Linked DNA regions of Homo sapiens: all the other regions are linked to region 1. The links are contacts of gene promoters, found by promoter capture Hi-C in blood cells and fetal thymus (Javierre and others, 2016). All regions are on one chromosome and are shown on one strand. The core of a region is centred on a gene start or on the middle of the fragment in contact, and the rest is flanking DNA. Distances in the headings are between cores, read along the strand shown.

What was found. Contacts are between HindIII fragments. The CHiCAGO score rates a contact against its expected background, and 5 or more counts as called.
Region 2: a fragment that was not itself captured here is called in contact with the fragment with the promoter of DPH5 in region 1 in 1 of 17 cell types (activated CD4 T cells); the score reaches 8.6 in activated CD4 T cells.
Region 3: a fragment that was not itself captured here is called in contact with the fragment with the promoter of DPH5 in region 1 in 1 of 17 cell types (monocytes); the score reaches 5.1 in monocytes.

What each region holds. Positions count from the first base shown.
Region 1 is chr1:101,024,005-101,027,096 of GRCh38, reverse strand. It overlaps DPH5 (diphthamide biosynthesis 5), which reads left to right and starts at 1,313. Exons shown (of 8, transcript NM_015958.3): 1 at 1,313-1,414; 2 at 1,631-1,788. The coding sequence starts at 1,654. DPH5-DT (DPH5 divergent transcript) reads right to left here and starts at 1,251. Exons shown (of 5, transcript NR_109849.1): 1 at 1,036-1,251. RefSeq lists enhancers at 1,382-1,491, 584-1,783. The HindIII fragment of the contact is 3,765 bases long and covers 1-2,179 here.
Region 2 is chr1:100,392,815-100,396,048 of GRCh38, reverse strand. The region is part of intron 4 of CDC14A (cell division cycle 14A); the gene reads right to left. It also overlaps the pseudogene BCAS2P2. Among named protein-coding and RNA genes, the nearest start is that of CDC14A, 42 kb to the right of the region's middle. The HindIII fragment of the contact is 4,409 bases long and covers 1-3,234 here.
Region 3 is chr1:100,364,689-100,367,693 of GRCh38, reverse strand. The region is part of intron 2 of CDC14A (cell division cycle 14A); the gene reads right to left. Among named protein-coding and RNA genes, the nearest start is that of CDC14A, 14 kb to the right of the region's middle. The HindIII fragment of the contact is 735 bases long and covers 1,315-2,049 here.

The DNA of each region.
Region 1 (3,092 bases), core at 64-2,563:
TTCAAATCTTTTGCCCATTTTTAAACAACGAACTGTTTTATTATTGCTTTCTGAGTGCTCCTTATATATTCTCCATACAAGTCCTTCATCAGATACATGCTTTGTAAATATTTTCAGTATGTGGCTTCAAGTCTTTTGAAGAGCATAAATTTTTACTTTGTTGAAGTCCAATTTATCAATTTTTTTCATCACGCTTTTGGTTTAAGAAATATTTGCCTAAATAAGGTCACGAATATTTCCTCCTATGTTTTCTTCTGGTATAGGTTTAGGTTTTCCATTTACATCTACGATCCATTTTGAGTTTTTTGGGGTGTGTATGTGGTGTGAGGAATAGATCAACGTAATGAGAGGGGATAAAACACAGCCACGAAGAGTTTATAGATAGGAAGTGCAAAAAGGTGGATGGAACCTGGGAATGAAAAAAAGCCAAGGTTCAAGGAAGCGGAGTTGGGCATTGTCGGGGAGGCAACAGGAAAATTCTGAGTAACCAACACTGCCTGCTAAGAAAAGCAATGACAGCTGTCTTTTTTAACTTGGATGAGGTCACCTTGGGAAGAGCATTTTCAGTCAAAACAAATCTTCCCTATTTCTAATTACATGTAACCAACAGCTTTATAAGAATTCCCCCGGCAGAAACACTTGAGAGGTCTGAAATCCCTGAGCACTATTAAAGGTCACTTCTTTAGGTACAGGAAGGTCTGGGATTCCTGACACTGAGGGTGACTGAAACATCCTTGGGGCACTCCAGGCATAAGGTCTTGGGGACAAACCCAAGGAGTCATTGCCTTGTTGGGAAATCAGAAGCACACTCACTGCTGGGTTTGCCAATCTCACGCTTCACCAGGAAGACACCTAGTTGAACTACAGGAGGATGAGAAGACTGGAATTAAAATCTGTGCACTCGGCCAAATCCGGGGACAAATCAGGAAAATCCTTCCCAGCCCTCCCTGTTTCTGGAGAGGAGGAGTAGGGCGCAGGGCCCCTCCCGACTCTCTTCCACGTGGCTCCTCTCGAGCGAAGAGCTACTGCACTTACCCAGGCTTAGGAAGCGGGTGTTTAAGCCATGGGTTAGAGGGCTCGTGAGCACGCCCGATCCTTTCCCTGAGGCTATGAAACGGTGGCTCCACGGACTCCTCTCGGCCGACTGACCTTTCGCCGCCCTGCCCCAGCAGCCGGCGGGTTTCTTCAGTGGAGCCGGGCTCTGGTCTCCGCAGCCCAGTAGCCCGCTAGCCCGGCCCCCTCCCGCTAGTCGTAAAGTGCAGTAAAGGCACCAGCATTTTGCGGCACCGTAGGTGAGGCCGGCGGCGTGGGCCTTTTCTCTGCACGGAGCCGGCGCTTTTGCAGTTGCTTCTGCGGAAAGGTGGTAGTTAAGAATTTGTAAAGGCCAGAGAACTACCTACGATTCTCTCAGCGGGTAATTGGCTGCTCCTAGGTTTGTGTAACAAGAGGCAAAACTGGTAGGGTTGTTTAAAACCTCTTATCCCAGTTCTTAAGCGTGACATAAGGTTCCCAAACCCCTCCTTGTGACTTGCCTCTTCTCTTGTGCTACTTTGGTTGTCATCGTGTTCATCACTAGATTTTAGATGTCCTCGGTGTTACTGACGGTTTTTCTGTCCACTTCGTCTTGCAGTCTCTCTTCTCCTCAAGTTTGAAATGCTTTATCTCATCGGGTTGGGCCTGGGAGATGCCAAGGACATCACAGTCAAGGGCCTGGAAGTTGTTAGACGCTGCAGTCGAGTGTATCTGGAAGCCTACACCTCAGTCCTAACTGTAGGGAAGGAAGCCTTGGTAGGTGCTGAGCGTTCCCCAGCCTCCTGGGAAGAAAGCTATCTAACATCTGATTTTCATACACTAAGCTGAACAGAATTTTCAGGTCTGCTTGTTTAAACCCTTTGAAACGCATCCCTTGTTCATTAATGATCTGAGGAGCAGAAGAATGGAAATTTTACACCAACCAAGTGACTTGGAAAATGAAAGGGTGCTTTGTCCTATTTTACAAGTCTAATTTTGTGGCTTTCTCCAGTAAATAGGAAAGCTATTTTATACTCCTGGGGGATAGTTATCAAAACCCCTTATTTCATGAGGTAGTCAAGAAACCCTTTCTGAGTTGAGTGCTAATGAGGAGCTGACACAGCCTTAATGAGTTGGTTATATATATTCAAAAACCAAGCTGAAAGCTTCCCCCTTTGAAGTGTGTCCATAGGGAATGGCGATTGCCTTTTTGTATCCTATCCAGAGAGATCTTATCTTAAATAGACTATCTCCCAATAAGGCTTATACTGATACACTTGTATATATTGAGTGAGCCTGGACTTAATATATAAAAATGTATGAGTATACACTTACATGAGTATACACTAAGTAACCAAAGTATTTGTTAGTATATTATACATTTATAGTTGGCCCTCATAAGGGCCCAGTAAATTTGGGGGAAGGGTCAACTTCAGGTTCATTGTCAAACTCTAAGTAGAATGTAAATCAAAGGATTAATACATATGTTATGGGAGGAGGGAGCAGATTTATTGTCATGTCTTCCAAACAAAAAATAGACTTAAAATTTTTAGGCCTCAGATTACTTTAAAATCTTATAGAAGGAATTAAGAACTGCTACTTGAATTGGCCATGCATTTAAATAAAAGTTGTGTGTAAAGACCAACTTTGATATATACATATATGTGGAGAGAGAGAGAAAATAAGTCTTGCTCTGTTGCCCAGGCTGGGGTGCAATGGTATGATCATGGCTCACTGCAGCCTCAGCCTCCTGGGCTCAAGTATCCTCCCACCTCAACCTCTCGAGTAGCTGAGACTACAGGTGGGTGCCATCATGCCCAGCTAATTTTTTGTATTTTTTGTAGAGACAGGGTTTTGCCACATTGCCCAGGCTGGTCACAAGTTCCTGGACTCTAGTGATCTGCCCACCTCGGCCTCCTAAAGTGCTGGGATTGTATAGGCACAAGCAACCACACCCAGCCTAAGGCCAGCTTTGATTTAAAAAACATTTTTTTTTCTCATTTTTTCACTCTTAGGATAGAACCAAAATATCTAAGCTCGAAATGATGGAAATGTGCGTCTCTAATCAGTGATTAAGGAAA
Region 2 (3,234 bases), core at 47-2,546, 630 kb after region 1:
AACAAAGTAATTTCAAATAGTAGCATGCTGTAAAGAAAATAAAGCAACAAAGGTCTAAAGGATGACTAGGGGTGGAGGTAACAGGGTAGAAATTAAGAGAAAATCTCTCTGAGAAAGTAACATTAGAAAGAGCCAGGCATGCAGAGGTCTGAAGTAAGAACATTCCAGATAGAACAGAAATATCAAGGCTCTTTGGTAGGAACAAGCATGGAATTTCAGTTAGAAGTCCAGCATGAGGGGAGCAACTTGAGCAAGGAGACCACAGAGGTAGAGAGGGTCAGATCAGAAAGGATCTTAATGGCATTGGTAAGGATAAATTTTATGCCAAGATCAGTGAGCAATAACAGATTTGAAACAGGGTAATGACGTGATCTAATTTACAATTTTAAAAGACTACTCTGACAGTTGTATGGCAACTAAATTAATGGGAAGCAAGAATATAAAAAGGAGACAACATATAAAGCTGTGGTCATAATCCAGGTGAACAATGACAGTGGCTTGGGCTAGGTGATAGCAACAGAGATGGAAAGATACATTCTGATTCAATATGTTTTAGAGGTAGAGCTGACCAAACTTACGAATAAGTAGAATGTGGGATGAGCGAACAAAAGAAATCAAAATGACTACTCTTTTGATTTAGCAAGTCACTGATGGTAGTCCACTTACTAAAAAGGGAATGACTTGGGAAATAAATACATTTAGGGAGAGAAGGAATAAAAACTTCTGTTTTGTCACAATAAATTTGAGGTATCATTTAGATGTATAATATGGAGCTATCAAACAGGCAGTTGGATATTTGATCTTTACAATAATCCTGTGAAGCAGATAAGGAAACTCAGGTATTATCCAAATTTTACAAATGAGAAAACTAAGGCTTTGAGAAAAAGGTTTGTCTTAGTACAAAATACTTTTATTAGTCAGTCAATGCCACTTAACAGAGGGCCGATTCCACATTTTAGGAACAGGAACACCTTCACTCTTAAAGACTTCTGTTTGATAAAATATACCTACCTACCTAGCTTGCCTCATGTAAGTTACATGGCTGCTCCGAAGGTAAAGGTCTTTTGTATCCAGAGAAGATTCCCCCAGAAAACGGACACTTATCCAACTAGCAACATTTAATATATGTAAATTTTAACTGAGATATATGTATAATGGATATTATTGACTATCTTACAAGACTGTCAACAAGTAAATACATACAAACAATACGAAGAAAGGCATAAAATTCTCTTTAAGGATCCACTGCCAATTTTTAGTTCCGTGTGTATTAAGGGTTTGTGTCAAAAAGCCCTCTGGGGAATACAGTTACAAAATTAGAAAAATCAATTGGGACATGACCAGTTCAAGAATAATCACTTCACACTGCTTCTCAAGACTGTAACTAGTGTGTAAGACAAGCTCATGCTGTACTCAGCACTTCTTCCACCATGCTAGGACTGCTTTTTCCCCTTTTGGTTGCTTTAAAGTGGTGGAAACTTCTCCATCAGAAGACATATTTTGTCACAGAGTATTTTGTGACAAGCTCAACGCATCTAATTTAATCCTTTCAAAGTTCTAGAGGCACCCTGCTAAAATGAAGAACCACACTAAACAAAACAGGAAGAATAGGTGTTAAAAAGGAAAGAAGAGGTTGGGTGTGGTGTCTCACATCTGTAATCCCAGCACTTTGGGAGGCCAGAGCAGGGGGATCACTTGAGGCCAGGAGTCCTGAAGCCAGGCTGGGCAACAAAGCAAGGCACTGTCTCTACAAAAATAAAATGAAATTAGCTGGCTGTGGTGGCACACACCTGCAGTCCCACCTTCTAGGGAGGGCTGAGGCAGGAGGATCGCTTGAGCACAGGAGTCTGAGGATACAATGGTCTACAATCGCACCAGTGCACTGCAGCCTGTGGGGCAGAGCAAGACTCAGTCTCAATAAATAAATAAATAAATAAGTAAGGAAAGAAGAGAGAGAAGATGCAAGGGAGGGAAAAAGGGGTAAAGAAATGAGAAGAGTAGGGCAAACCTGAGGTCCCCAGAATGGCAGGCACAGGTTTGGTGGCTGGAGAGGTTGAGGTGGATGCACTGCTATATATATATATATTTTTTTTTGCGGTGGGGAGGGGGAACAGAGTCTCGCTGGGTAGCCAGGCTGGAGTGCAGTGGCGCAATCTTGGCTCACTGCAACCTCCCACTCCTGGGTTCAAGCGATTCTCCTGCCTCAGCCTCCCGAGTAGCTGGGACTACAGGCTCGCATCACCACGCCCAGCTAATTTTTGTATTTTTAGTAGAGACATGTTGGTCAGGATGGTCTCCGTCTCTTGACCTTGTGATCCGCCCGCCTCAGCCTCCCAAAGTGCTGGGATTACAGTCGTGTGCCACCGCTTGATTGATATTGACCACTTGATCCATATTTTGATCAAGGTTATGAAGCCTCTGGTGTGCAGGAAGCAGCTGCAGTGCTGGTGGAGAAGTAAACTCGCAGATACCAACCTACTATGAACTACCTGAGATACCTGACAGTCCTGGATTATTCTGCTTTTGAAACTGACATGATGAGAAATGAATTTGAGAGACTGGCTGCTCGACAACCAACTGAATTGCTCAGTATGAAACGATATGAACTTCCAGCCCCTTCCTCTGGTCAAAAAAATGGCATTACTGCATGGCAAGAATGTGTAAACAATTCTATGGCCTAGTTAGAGCATCAAGCAGTTACAACTGAGAATCTGAAACTAATGTCACAGCATGGATGTAATGCCTGGAAAGTATACAATGAAAATCTAGTTCATATGATTGAACATGCACAGAAAGAACTTCAGAAGTTAAGAAAACATATTCAAGATTTAAACTGGCAGAGAAAGAACATGCAACTCACAGCTGGATCTAAATTGAGAGAAATGGAGTCAAATTGGATATCTGTAGTAAGAATTATGAGACTGAACGGACTATTTTTCAACTAGAAAATGAAATCTATCAAATTAAACAGCAACATGGAAAGGCAAACAAAGAAAACATCCGGCAAGACTTCTGAAAAGACAATTTCGCGGGTAGAAAAGTTGGGCTCTCACAAAAGGCATCTGAACTTTTAATGAACTGTTAAGGACAACAGCAACTTCCCAAAACCATTGATGTTTAAATGTTTAGAAATCATAGAATGTGTGGGCTGCTGCGGTAATTCTATTTGTATATCTCAACAGAATTAAAATGTCTAGCTTGGTGATATTTTTATAGCCATAAAAAAGAAAAACC
Region 3 (3,005 bases), core at 433-2,932, 660 kb after region 1:
TTTTGCACAACCAAGAGCAATTTTGAACAAGTCTTCAAAAGTCAGAATTGTCACAAATATAAAGCCAACAAGCTCTATCTTATCTTAAGGTCATTTGATACAATACTTACACTTGTAAGACTATTTATGTATTTAAAATAATATAGTCTTATACATATAGTTTTCTAGCTTACTATTAATAAATATATTTTTAAATGTCAAGATCATTGAAAAATTGCTGATAGTTGTTCACACCATGCTGGGTTATCACCAACTTTGGTATAATGAAATACTGTGAATAAAGAAGACATCTTCCAACAACATGCTCCTTTGTAAGAACCTTCTTCACCAGAGTTGAGGGAAAAATGAAAACATACTTATAATACATACTATTAGCTAGAGGGAAATTCAAAATAAAAATTAATTGATAATCAATGAAAATAATCAAATGTGCTAGATTTATTTGGGCAGCTTGGAACAAAAGCAGGGTGGAAGAGGAGAAATGGAAGGTCATCAACCTGGGGATAGTGAAAAGGGAGGAGATGGTAGAAATAAGTACTTCAGAGACTATTCAGAAATCTGAGGGCTGAGTGCACTCCTAAACTTGAAGTTAATGACAATGGACAGAGTCTTCTCCACTCTGGCATTTCCTAGGAAAAGGCTTCCAGAGCCACAGCCAAGCACGGGTCCCCACTTTGTCTTGGCAGAGGGGAGTAGTCTTTTGGTCTCATGTGGCCAGGGAAAAACACGGACATTTTATTATTTCAGAGTACCCGTGCGTTCATCTCCAAATGAATTAACAAATGAACGAATGATTCTCTCCACCTATTTGCAGATTTCTTCTAAGAAGATTGGCAAATTATGGGTCAATGCCTACAATGAAACTCATGAACTATTAAGGGAAAATCGGTCCATCCATCTTTTTATTCAGTAAGTGTAAATAGCTAAAATCAAACCCTTTTCTGTTTTGACAGGAAAGAAACTAAAAGAATTGGAGCATTTGGAGTCCTGCAAGTGGAGGAGGAAGGAGGTTCATCTCCTTACCAGGAGAACAAAGAAACAGGAGCCCAAGGATCAGAGCAAACATTCACAAGGGTAGGATCACCCACCACCCCACAGGTGCAGGTCCTACAAATTTGAAGGGACATAGAAGCTGGGCCTAAAAGCCTTGCTGTCATACTCAACATGTGCAGCTCTTCTCACAGATTTATGAAGTTTATGATGTACCATTATTTTGTCTTCGGTTTTTCTAATAAACTATAATTTAAGTGAGTCAATTCCCAGAGGAATCATTGTTTGAAGTATTGTTATACCTTATTCTACACATTAGAAGCTTCATGTGAAAATTCCCAACACCTCAGCAAAAAGATAAGCTACATTCCAAGAAGTACTCATTCATTCAACAAAATTTATGACTACCTATTCTGAGCAAGGCATTACTAGTTAGCATATTCATCACAGAGTACTTGCAATACAAAAAAAATTAACTGCTTTAAAAACAGGATGAATAAATTCTATAAGATCGTTATAAGGCATGCCAACCTTTCAATGTTTTACCAGCACTGCTGACGTTTTTTGTCTCTTCATTCACTTGCTCACTCAAATAGTTACTAAAAGCCTATTGGTCACCAGTCCCTACCCACAAGGAGCTCACTATCTACTGAGAAGACAGGTAAAGACATTATTACAATGTGATAAATGCTAAAATAGCAGTATCCTCCAAAACACAATGAGACCGTGTGTGTGTGTGTGTGTGTGTGTGTGTGTGTGTGTAAAATTTTGTTGAAATTGATCAGCAATGCCTCTGGGCCACACATTACCTAACAGTTTCCCTATCACTAGAATACTATCCGCACCCCTCCAGTCAGATGATAAAGTTTCTGTATGAGACGTGATTATTATGGCTGAACTCATAATGATCACATTTTAAAAAGGTCCTAACTGCATAACAAATACCAACCTCAGATGAGGGCACTAGTCTGAGTTTTTGCTCAAGCCCTTTAGCATAACCACCCACAGTCACACTGATGCCAACTTCTTGGGGAAGAGTTGCTGCACATCTAACAAGCTTCCCACACACACAGCAGTCTGATGCAGAACTAAAGATCACTGGGTGCCAAAAGGTTCCAGTCCCAATTTGGTCACTCAGTGTCCCTAATCTGGTGTCGTAGCCTCTCTGGGACTCCACGTCCTCATCTATCAAATGAAGCCACTGAATTAGATGGCTCCTAAAGTTCTTTCCAGCTCTTATGTAATATCATATATCACAGTTCTAGCCGCTATATAGACTCTACAGAGTCTATGACTCTAGTTATCCTTATTGGACAAACCCATTCAACTGTTCAAATGTTTCTCAAGGTCTACTTGCCCTATTTGATGTTCTCTGTTCTGTCTGTCCTCTCAGTGCATTGGGTCTGGGTACAGAAAACATTTCCCTCAGAGTGTCTCCTCTTTGAGGAAGGAAAAGAACACAACTTTTTCCATGAAATTCACTGTTTTCTGCACAGCCAGAAAGCAAACCCACAGACTACAAAGCAGCTACATGTATTAGGAAACTTATCATCTTTATTACTTACTTGTCTGCAAAAAGTCTGACATTTGTTGAGATCATAAAGGAAGGAGAGAACCCCAATATCAACTATCAATCCTGTCCCTTGATGCATTGTCTAGATTTCTAAGAAAGTTCAGGTTTACAACACCAGAGGGTGAGGAACCATTCTCCACTTATTACCTTCTTAACCCGAGGTAAATACTGGTCAGGTCAGGTGTCAGCTGCTGTTTCTGTAAAATAAGTGAGTGCTTTCACTTTGCCTTAAAGCCAAACAACAGACCAGATGGTATCAAGAAACCTTCCAGTATCAGGGTCTGTAATTCTAACATCCCTCGTTAGAGAAGGTCAGTTAATAAAAACTCCCTTAGAGACTCAGATTAACGAAAACAAAAGGAGACTTCTTCAGGAATGCACTGGGAAAATTAAAATTCACTCCCACAGAAATATTCTCAAGCAGTGTAAATTAACTCCATTA